Linked DNA regions of Homo sapiens: region 2 is linked to region 1. Evidence: promoter capture Hi-C in human tissues and cell types (Jung and others, 2019). All regions are on one chromosome and are shown on one strand. The core of a region is centred on a gene start or on the middle of the fragment in contact, and the rest is flanking DNA. Distances in the headings are between cores, read along the strand shown.

Region 1 (5,806 bases), core at 1,190-3,689:
TCATTGTTCCTCATCTCCTGTTTCTCATCATCAAACCCCACTGAGAGCCTTCTTGTTCTTTACTCCTAGCTCTCTCTACCGTATCAATGTATGTCTTTCCTCCCTCCTCTTTGGAGTGTTCTTGTTTCTTATTGTTTTGAATTAGAAGGCACTTTCCCTGGGCAGTACAGAGGTTACTGTTTAATTCTTGCCACTTGTCATTTCTATTTTAATAATGTTTCCTGGCTATTTGGTCAGGTCTGGGTGATAGTTTTGCAGTAATAGCTACCATTTACTGAGCACTTACCATGTGACAGGTACTATGTAAAGTTCTGTACTTGCATTCTCCAATTTAGACATACTGTGAAGTGTAGGTACTATTTTTATATTCATTTGAACCTAGCTAGGATTTGAACCCAGCTCCAAGCTTAAAGCTTGTACTTGACACTATGTACTTCAGTAATATCAAACAGGAGCTGAAATTGAGGGGCAGCATGAAGGAATTGAAGCAGCACAAGTAGATTCAGGAAACCTCAATTTCAAACTCTGCCTTTACAATCCTTCTGAAAGAGGATTTGCTTCTAGAGCACCAAGGTTGCCTCCATTTTTCCACCAGAGACACTCAAAGTGATTCCTCCTGCAGCTTGTATCTATAGTAGCAGCCAACCACAAAGCACACATGGGCATTTGCTCAGCATTCCATAGAAAAGCCTATTTCTCTGGGAGGTGGTGGGTACTGGGTGTGTGGTGTGCCGTGTAGCGGGCCCCTGAAACACCTTGGCCTTAGCAGTTATAAGTATAGAGAATATCTTCCCCACAGGGCTAGGATGATTAAGATATTTTAAGGATTTAGGATGGTGCCTGTCATTTATTAGGCACTCAATATGTGCTGGCTCTCATTGTCCTAAAAGATTTTTAGTCCATGAGTATTCAAGCTAGTAGAATCCTGTCCTTTTAGCTCTACTTGAATCTAGGCTCAATGTTCAGGAGAAGACACGAGATGCATCTCTGTTGGTCCAGGTCCAATGCTGTGAATCACACCAACTCTTGTGAGTTTGAGCTCCAAAAGGACTGGAATTTGAGGCCAAAGAAGGCAAAATATTTTCCCTCCCCATTCTTGCTAAGTTCTTGGGTTGTTGGTGTAATGGAAACAGACAGTCCTGGGTTCAAATCTAGACTCTACATTTGCCTGCTCAAGTTACCTGCCTGTTTCCATCATGGGAAGAACTTGGGCTGTGGAGAAGGGTAAACCTGGGGTCAAAACCCCAGCTCTGCCAGTGAATGGGCATTTTACTCAGTCAAGTATCCTTTCTGAGGCCATCTCTTTTCTATAAAGTGGGGCAGCAGCAGTTCTTCCTTTGCGGAGTTGTGAAGCAGAGCATAATGCATATGGTATAACCTCACGGGGGCGGCAGCCAGTGAAAAGTCTGGAGCTGCTTTACAGGGGCCATTCATTCATTCATTCATTCAGGTTAAGGTTGAGCAAGGGGTCCCACGTGTGACTTATGCATCCTTCTCCCTCTTCAGTGGGAGGACAGCCAGGTGAGGCAGCTGTGGATGCCCTGCCCACAGGCCAGAGCAGGTAAGGGGAGGAGGCTTGCTACACAGTGGAGGTGCCAAGTACCACCTAAGCCCAGCCGCATTGCCTGTTCCACCGCCGAAGCCCCTGGCGCCAAACAGTGTTGCTTCAGCTGGTAGTAGTTAATACTCCTTTACTTGGAAACATTTTCAGTTCCTGGGAGCAATATGGTGGTGTGAGGTCTCACTGTTCACCCGCCCTGTTTCTCTGTGACTGGGATCTGCATGTCCCCGACTCCGGCCCAATTTACCATTCTTCAAGGCTCACCAGGCTGTGGGCCCAGGGCCAACAGGGATGGGAGTGGAGGGTGGGGTGGAGCGTGGGGAACTTTTCCGGGAAGAGGCCCAGCAGGGTCTTGGCTGGCGGCCCCATTAGCCACGGCCCAGGACCCCAGGGTGGGAGAGTGAACGGAAAGGTACTCGTGCCTGGAGCGGTTGCAACATCCTCTGTAATGAGGAAGATACAGCTCAGAGGCACTGGGTCGAAGGACCCCTCTCCCCAGCCCTCCTTTCAGGTGTCGGGGCCTAAAGGGGGTCCAGTTCCAGTGCGGAAGGCTGGGAACTAGGAAGCGTCGCGGACCAGACAGCCCGCCTTCCCGGTCTCCCGGGTGGGGGTTCGGGGGGCGTGGTGCGGCGGCCGGGGCTGAGAGGGGTCGGTGCGGCGGCTCTGCCTCCCCGGGAAGTGGGAACCGGCCAAGTCCCGAGCGGGGAGGGGCAGGCTTTCTCCTGCCCGCGCCTGGGGGGACCCTACGCCTGTGTCCGAAGGAGGCCGGCGTCCAGCAGATGCTCCCGGGGCGGGTGGGGAGTGGGGGAAGGGGGCGGGAGAGAGGCGGGGAGGAGAAAACCCACAACAAAACTTGCGTCGCGGAGAGCGCCCAGCTTGACTTGAATGGAAGGAGCCCGAGCCCGCGGAGCGCAGCTGAGACTGGGGGAGCGCGTTCGGCCTGTGGGGCGCCGCTCGGCGCCGGGGCGCAGCAGGTACAGGGCGCTGGCAGCCGGGGTGGGCCGAGGGGCCGGGGGCTGAGCCCGGGCAGCGCACTCAGACGTCCCCGCCTCTCCGGATGGCTCCAGCAGCTGCCTGGGGCGGGCCCGCCGCATCTCACCCCCTCTGTAGGACCCTGCACCCAGGGCACGGCCGGAGATCTCCTCCTCTGGAGTGCGACCCCTGCGCAGTCAGGACCCAGGCAGGGGCCTTCTCCTCTCTGAGCAGAGGCTGGTCCCCGTCCCCAGGCCCCTCCCGCTGCGCACATCTGGAAAGAATCTGAGGGCGGTTGGGGGCGGGGGCTGGAGTGGGAGGACGCCGGCGGGCGACAGGGAATGTGGGGGGCAGGTGGAACTGCGTAGGGGCGGGGACCCCTGTCATGAGAGCCTGGGCCCGAAGTATCCCCGCGTCTTTCCACGTCAACTCATCAGGCCCCCTAGCGACTCCAACCTCCACCTCTTTATAGATAGAGAAACTGAGGCCCAGAGAGGGGCAGAGGTCTGGCCCCAGGGCGCGTCGGACGCCGGGTGGGTCCCCTCCGGGGCTCGGCTTCCCCGGCCACTGTGCCGCCCCAGCTTAGTGCCAACCACTAGTTGAGCTAAAGGTCTCAGCTGGCGGTCTGGAGTCCGTCTATCTGTCTACGCGGCTGCTTCCCAGCCGGGACAGCTGGAGGGAGGAAGGGGTGGGGGTCCGCGAAGCGCGAGGAGCGAGATCCGCGCCTTCCTGCGAATGAGGCAGAAGCCCCAGGTTCCAGGTCCCCGAGCCACAGCCCGGCCTGGGGCGGGGGACGAGATCTTGGCGTTGGAATACCTGACGCTCCGTCAGGTGGAAGAGGAGGTGGTGGCGGGGCTGCGAGGCTCCTGGCAGCCTCGGGGGCTGGGGCTAGGAGAGGCAGCCGCAGCCTTTTGGAGAGGAGCAGGCGCGGCAGCAAGGGGCGAGCACCCCGGCCCCGGTGCGCGCGGCACTGACTGAGCTGGTCCGGGAGGCGCGGAGGATGCTCACCCAGCGCTTGGAGTGAATTACTGACCTGTCTGCCCTTCGATTACCGGCTGGCCAGGGAAGGGGAAGCTGTGGTCTGCCCTGCTCCACGAGGCGCCACTGGTGTGAACCGGGAGAGCCCCTGGGTGGTCCCGTCCCCTATCCCTCCTTTATATAGAAACCTTCCACACTGGGAAGGCAGCGGCGAGGCAGGAGGGCTCATGGTGAGCAAGGAGGCCGGCTGATCTGCAGGCGCACAGCATTCCGAGGTAGGTCACTCAGAAGAGCCCGTGGACTGCCCTGGGAAAGACCAGGGGGGACTGCTCTGGGGGTTCTGCTCCCTCATGTCCACTCTTAGGGCCCAAGACCCAGTCTACTCTAGCCTAGAGTGCAAGTTAAGAAATGTCAGAGTCACACGACTGTTTTCATGTCATCTGTGGGAGCACACTTTATCCCTTCTGTCTGAGTCTAGGATAGGGGATTACTAATGGTGGCACTTTTAGGCTTGGTGTAGTCATACATGCGAGTGCTGGCCGTGTCCTGCTTGGAACCCTTAATGAGTCCCTATCACCAACACTAGCATGGCGGTGGAGGCCCTTGGCCACCCAGGCCTCCCGCCCTGTTGACCCTTCCTTAAACACACGTCCCTCTCCTCTAGCCCCACCCCTACCTTTTGATCACACTCTACCTCTGCCTGGAGGGCTGTTTCTCCCACTCCGTCCACTTGGAGAACTCCCGCTCAGTCTTCAAGGCCAACTCAAGGCTCTGGGCAGGAGTCAGAAGACCCACATTTTACTCTTGGCCTTGGCTTTAACACACTAATTTGCAAACTGGGGGAGTCAGAGCAGATCATACTGCAGATCTTTAGATCTTTTCCAACTCTGCCTTTCACAAAGTCGTTCATTCAGCAAACATTTCCCCAGCACCCCCACTCCATGCTTGGGGAGACAGGGGAGGCCCAGCTGAGACTTGAAGGATAAAGCCAGCCAAGGTTGCTGTGGAAGCACCCAGAAACACCCTAACCCAGCCAAGGGGGCAGGAGAGGCTTCCCTGAGCAGGGGCATTTCAGCAGGAGCTTTCTAGGGATGGGCAGCAATGCCAGCCCTTTGTGCTTGAGCTCCAAATCTGCAGAATAGAAAGACGAACATGTAGTCCCAGGATTTCTATTAGAGTCAATAAGATGCAGCTGTTTGGGGCCCAGCACAGAGCAGGTGGTCAGTTGATTTGTACTGACTTTGAGTGGAGAAGGAAGGTAGTGCTGAGGGCTGAGGATCCGCCTCTTGATTTGGGGCTCCCTTTCCCTTCCTTCTTCTAGTCCTACCTTAACCTCACACTTTGGGCCTTGAGGTTTGGTTCCCTGGTAGTGGTCAGGGGAGACAGTGGGTCCCACTTACTTTCTCAGTAACAGTAACCCCTGGTATGTCACACCTATTTGATGCCAGCGGTGACAGGCTGAGACTGCTATTTCATTTAATTCTCACAAGTAGCTCCCAACTCCATTTCTTAGACTAGTTAACAGAGGCTCGGAGCAGTAAAGTGGCTCATCCAGGCTTACACAGCAGTCAGAATTGGAACCCATGCCCTTCTGTCTCTAAAGCTCTCCATATGAGAAACACTCACTGCTGGCTGAGCTTCCCCGCTGTCCAGGGGTTTGAGATGTTCCTCACCAGGTGGACTTGAAACTCCTGGAGACCAGGGAGCTCCCCTGTTCTTCCCCACACACCTCCCACATGGCTGGGTACACAGAAGGGGCCTTGGGGGGCTTATCTTGCTCCATTCTTAGAAGAGCAAGGCTGGGTACAGTGGCTCATGCCTGTAATCCCAGCACTTTGGGAGGCCGAGGCAGAAGGCCAGAAGTTCAAGAACAGCCTGGGCAACATAGTGAGACCCCATTTCTAAAAATAAAAAATTAGCCAGATGCCAGGTGTGGAGGCACATGCCTGTAGTTTCAGCTACTCGGGAGGCTGAGGTGGGAGGATCACCTGAGCCCAGGAGCCCAAGGCTGCAGTGAGCCATGATTGTGCTACTGCAGTCCAGCCTGGGTAACAGAGGGAGACCCTGTCTCAAAAAAAAAAAAGAAAGTTGGAAAATTTAGACTCAGATGGGTCAGTGGTATGGCCAAGGTCACACGGCAAACCAGGTAGTAGGGCTGGACCTTCCCAGTGCCTCACAGCCCTGAGAGTGGCTGGCGAAGCTGGAGGGACCACTCTCCAAGCCCTGTCTGTCCTTCTTACCTCTTCCTCCATTCCTGCAGTCCAGCACCTCTCTCTCTGCCAGGGGCAGGCCCCT
Region 2 (6,121 bases), core at 2,391-4,890, 57 kb before region 1:
CTTTCTCAGTACTTTTCTTTTGACATTTATGCTCATAGTATATATTATCATTATTTATAGGCTTTAAAAAAATCTTCCCTATTTAGGCTGGGTGCGGTGGCTCATGCCTGTAATCCCAGCACTTTGGGAGGCCAAGATGGGTGGATCATGAGGTCAGGAGATCGAGACCATCCTGGCTAACATGGTGAAACCCCGTCTCTACTAAAAATTCAAAAAATTAGCTGGGTGTGGTGGCAGGCGCCTGTAGTCCCAGCTACTCAGGAGGCTGAGGCAGGAGAATGGCGTGAGCCTGGGAGGCGGCGGAGCTTGCAGTGAGCCGAGATCACGCCACTGCACTCCAGCCTGGGTGACAGAGTGAGACTCCGTCTCAAAAAAAAAAAAAACAAAGAAAGAAAAAAGAAAAAAATATCTTCCCTATTTAAGAGCCTATGAAGTCAGGATTCATATTTCATTTGTCTCTCTACCTTGAACAGTGTGCAATACATTGCATATTTAAAGGGATAGTTGAATATATTATTGCTCCTTTAACATCTAGAACGTGGCATGGAGCAAAGGGAATACATTTGTTTAATGTGGGAAGAATTAGGATCATTAGGAAGAATTCATTGGAAGTTATATTTTGGCCGGATACAAGAGAACTTTCTAACATGGCTTCTCAAAAATGGAATAGGTTGCCTCCTGAGAGCATGCATTTACCTGTCAGAGAGGCTGTGCACAAAAAATACATGTAACAACTTGATAGGAATGTTGTAAGGAGAATTTTGCCCATCTGTTGGGCCTTAGATTTGATGAATTCATAGATCCTTTTCAATTCTATTATAAGATGCTCTGATCTCCTGTGCGAAGTAATTATTTCTTTTTCTGCATTCACATAGTTCTTGATGTTTCTAATGACACGTATATTATTATTCTATCCTGTGATTTTTGTTTACATGTTTCAGTACTTTTAAAGGCATTATAAACTTCTTAGGTCTTAAGAATTTGGGTGAAAATGATGTGAGAAGAAGTGGAATTTTAACCAAGGGACCGAGCATTTTCAAATCAAACCATGGCTTATCTCGTCTACTCTGTAAGAGGTTGCCAAAATAAATCCTAGGACGATGACTGGTAAGGCCTAAATCCAATATAAACTCTTAAAAAGCCAGCAAGTCAGTAAGAGCTAATTAGCTTTTCACCAAAATTTCTTTTTTACCTTTCATCATATCCTCCAGGCCACCCATCCTTGTTTCCATTGCCCAGAGTTTTGCATTTTTACCACTGCAATGTGAGGAGAGGTAAATTTTATCATTAAACTCTATCTGTGCCAGGACAAATGGAGCCCAGGAGATGGTGTCTACTCTAGATACCTGTTGCTAGCTAGAGATAACTAGGAGAAAGCCCTGAATTTCTGTTTCTATTTCTTTTCTTTTTTTATTTTTGAAACCAGGATTTCGCTCTGTTGCTCTGGCTGGAGTGCAGTGGCATGATCATGGCTCATTGTAGCCTCGATTTCTTGGGCTCAAATGATTCTACTATCTCAGTCTCCCAAGTAGTTGGGACTGCAGGCACGCACCTTCATACCTGGCTAATTTTTTACATTTTTGGTAGAGACGGGCTTTCGCCATGTTGCTTAGGCTGGTCTCGAACTCCTGGGATAAAGCAATCTGCCCATGTTGGCTTTCCAAAGTGCTGAGATTATAGGCATGAGCCATCATGCCTTCTTTTTCTTTTTTTGAGATAGAGTCTTCCTCTGTTGCCCAGGCTGAAGTGCAGTGCAAACATGGTGCAAACATGCTTACTGCAGTCTCTACTTCCTGGGCTCAAGTGATCCTCCCGCCTCAGTCTCCCAAGTAGCTGGGACCACAGGTGCACACCATCATGCCCAGCTAATTTTATTTTATTTTTTCTTTTGTAGAGATGGGGTCTCCCTATGCTTCCCAGGCTGGTCTCAAACTCCTGGGCTCAAGTGGTCCTCTCTCCTTGGCCTCCCCAAAAGCTGGGATTACAGGCGTGAGTCACCACACCCAGCCCCTTTTTCTTTCTTCACAATTTCACGGATAGAAAATTCATTGTTACTGTAGATCTTAGCAACCTCAGCATGCCATTTTTTTCCCTTAAAGTTGGGAACTTCCACCTTTTCATTTAAAGGAAGCACTTGTATGCACATCTGAATCGCCACTTCACTCCTCTTGCGCTTTGGGGCCATCATTAAGTAAACTAAGGATGACTTGAACACGAGCAGTACCCATCACAGTACCCATCACAGTCATTCTAATAACAAAGATAGCTACTAACTGACTAACGGGTGGGTGGGATGTACCACTTGGATATGCTGGGCAAAGGGATGATTCACATCCCAGGTGGGGTGGAGCTGAATGGTGCGAGATTTTATCATGCTACTCAGAACAGCATGCAACTTAAAACTTATGAATTGTTTATTTCTGGCATTTTCTATTCAATATTTTTAGACTGTAATCGACTGAGGGTAACTGAAACTGTGGAAAGTGAAACCATGGATGTGAGGGCACTACTGTATTTTACTTTTTTTTGAAATATATTTTACATGTGATAGATAATTTTGTCAGGCCTCTGAGCCCAAGCTAAGCCATCATATCCCCTGTGACCTGCACGTATACATCCAGATGGCCTGAAGCAACTGAAGATCCACAAAAGAAGTGAAAATAGTCAGTTCCTGCCTTAACTGATGACATGCCACCATTGTGATCTGTTCCTGCCCCACTCTAACTGATCAATTGACTTTGTGACAATACATCCTCCCCACCCTTGCGATAATGTATTTTGTGATATTCACCGCCCTTGTGAATGTACTTTGTAGGGTATACCCTCCCTGCCTTTAAGAAGGTTCCAAGATGGCCAAATAGGAGCAGCTCCAGTCTACAGCTCCCAGCGTGAGTGACGCAGAAGATGGGTGATTTCTGCATTTCCAACTGAGGTACCAGGTTCATCTCACTGGGGCTTGTCGGACAGTGGGTGCAGTCCACGGAGTATGAGCTGAAGCAGGGCAGGGCATTGCCTCACCCGGGAAGTGCAAGAGGTTGGGGAATTCCCTTTCCTAGCCAAGGGAAGCCGTGACAGATGGTACCTGGAAAATTGGGACACTCCCACCCTAATACTGCGCTTTTCCAATGGTCTTAGCAAATGGCACACCAGGAGATTATATCCCATGCCTGGCTTGGAGGGTCCCACACCCATGGAGCCTCGCTTGCTGCTAGCACAGCAGTCTGAGATTAAACTGCAAGGTGACAGCGAGGCTTGGGGAGGGGCATCCGCCTTTGCTGAGGCTTGAGTAGGTAAACAAAGTGGCTGGGAAGCTTGAACTGGGTGGAGCCCATCGCAGCTCAACGAGGCCCGCCTGCCTCTGTAGACTCCACTTCTTGGGGCAGGGCATAGCTGAACAAAAGGCAGCAGAAACTTCTGCAGACTTAAACGTCCCTGTCTGACAGCTTTGAAGAGAGTAATGGTTCTCCCAGCATGGAGTTTGAGATCTGAGAATGAACAGATTGCCTTAAGTGGGTCCCTGACCCCCGAGTAGCCTAACTGGGAGACACCTCCCAGTAGGGGCTGACCAACACCTCATACAGCCGGGTGTCCCTCTGAGATGAAGCATCCAAGGGAAGGATCAGGCAGCAACATTTGCTGTTCTGCAATATTTGGTGTTCTGCAGTCTCCGCTGGTGATACCCAGGCAAACAGGGTCTGGAGTGGACCTCCAGCAAACTCCAACAGACCTGCAGCTGAGGGTCCTGACTGTTAGAAGGAAAATTAACAAACAGAAAGGACATTCACACCAAAACCCCATCTGTACGTCACCATCATCAAAGACCAAAGGTAGATAAATCCACAAAGATGAGGAGAAACTAGAGCAGAAAAGCTGAAAATTCTAAAAATCAGAGTGCCTCTTCCCTCCAAAGGAGCACAGCTCCTCACCAGCAATGGAACAAATTTGGACGCAGAGTGACTTTGATGAGTTGAGAGAAGAAGGCTTCAGATGATCGGTAATAACAAACTTCTCTGAGCTAAAGGAGGATGTTCAAACCCATCGCAAAGAAGCTAAAAACCTTGAAAAAAAGATTAGACGAATGGCTAATTAGAATAAACAGCATAGAGAAGACCTTAAATGACCTGATGGAGCTGAAAACCATGGCACAAGAACTATGTGACACATGCCAAAGCTTCAGTAGCCGATTTGATCAAGTGGAAGAAAGGGTATCAGTGATTGAAGATCAAATGAATGAAATGAAGTGAGAAGAGAAGTTCAGAGAAAAAAGAATAAAAAGAAATGAACAAAGCCTCCAAGAAATATGGGACTATGTGAAAAGACCAAATCTACGTCTGACTGGTGTACCTGAAAGTGAGGGGGAGAATGGAACCAAGTTGGAAAACACTCTTCAGGATATTATCCAGGAGAACTTCCCCAACCTAGCAAGGCAGGCCAACATTCAAATTCAGGAAATACATAGAACGCCACAAAGATACTCCTCGAGAAGAGCAACTCCAAGACACGTAATTGTCAGATTCACTAAAGTTGAAATGAAGGAAAAAATATTAAGGGCAGCCACAGAGAAAGGTCGGGTTACCCACAAAGGGAAGCCCAACAGACTAACAGCGGATCTCTCGGCAGAAACTCTACAAGCCAGAAGAGAGTGGGGGCCAATATTCAACATTCTTAAAGAAAAGAATTTTCAACCCAAAATTTCATATCCAGCCAAACTAAGCTTCATAAGTGAAGGAGAAATAAAATCCTTTACACACAGGCAAATGCTGAGAGATTTTGTCACCACCAGGCCTGCCTTACAAGAGCTCCTGAAGGAAGTACTAAACATGGAAAGGAACAACTGGTACCAGCCACTGAAAAAACATGCCAAATTGTAAAGATCATTGATGCTAGGAAGAAACTGCATCAACTAATGAGCAAAATAACCAGCTAACATCATAATGACCAGGATCAAATTCACACATAACAATATTAACCTTAAATGTAAATGGGCTAAATGCTCCAATTAAAAGACACAGACTGGCAAATTGGATAAAGAGTCAAGACCCATCAGTGTGCTGTATTCAGGAGACCCATCTCACGTGCAGAGACACACATAGGCTCAAAATAAAGGGATGGAGGAAGATCTACCAAGCAAATGGAAAACAAAAAAAAGCAGGGGTTGCAATCCTAGTCTCTGATAAAACAGACTTTAAACCGACAAAGATCAAAAGAGACAAAGAAGGCCATTACATAATGATAAAGGGATCAATTCAACAAGAAGAGATAACTATCCTAAATATATATTCACCCAATACAGGAGCACCCGGATTCATAAAGCAAGTCCTTAGAGACCTACAAAGAGAATTAGACTCCCACACAATAATAATGGGAGACTTTAATACCCCACTGTCAACATTAGATCAACGAGAGAGAAAGTTAACAAGGATATCCAGGACTTGAACTCAGCTCTGCACCAAGTGGCCTTAATAGACATCTACAGAACTCTCCACCCCAAATCAACAGAATATATATTCTTCTCAGCACCACATCACACTTATTCCAAAATTGACCATGTAGTTGGAAGTAAAGCACTCCTCAGCAAATGTAAAAGAACAGAAATTATAACAAACTGTCTCTCAGACCATAGTGCAATCAAACTAGAACTCAGGATTAAGAAACTCACTCAAAACCGCTCAACTACATGGAAACTGAACAGCCTGCTCCTGAATGACTACTGGGTACATAATGAAATGAAGGAAGAAATAAAGATGTTCTTTGAAGCCAATGAGAACAAAGACACAACATACCAGAATCTCTGGGAAACATTTAAAGCAGTGTGTAGAGGGAAATTTATAGCACTAAATGTACACAAGAGAAAGCAGGAAAGATCTAAAATTGACACCCTAACATCACAATTAAAAGAACTAGAGAAGCAAGAGCAAACACATTCAAAAGCTAGCAGAAGGCAAGAAATAACTAAGATCAGAGCAGAACTGAAGGGGATAGAGACACAAAAAAACCCTTCAAAAAATCAATGAATCCAGGAGCTGGTTTTTTGAAGCGATCAACAAAATTGATAGACCGCTAGCAAGACTAATACAGAAGAAAAGAGAGAAGAATCAAATAGATGCAATAAAAAATGATA

The links. Contacts are between HindIII fragments. The study calls those that stand out against the background at their distance.
Region 2: a contact is called between a fragment that was not itself captured here and the fragment with the promoter of PODN in region 1, in 1 of the 25 tissues and cell types used here (adrenal gland).

The regions. Positions count from the first base shown.
Region 1 is chr1:53,059,774-53,065,579 of GRCh38, forward strand. PODN (podocan) reads left to right here and starts at 2,440. Exons shown (of 11, transcript NM_153703.5): 1 at 2,440-2,535. RefSeq lists a silencer at 2,418-2,605. The HindIII fragment of the contact is 18,135 bases long and covers 1-5,806 here.
Region 2 is chr1:53,001,818-53,007,938 of GRCh38, forward strand. All of the region lies in intron 11 of SCP2 (sterol carrier protein 2), which reads left to right. Among named protein-coding and RNA genes, the nearest start is that of PODN, 57 kb to the right of the region's middle. The HindIII fragment of the contact is 4,035 bases long and covers 1,624-5,658 here.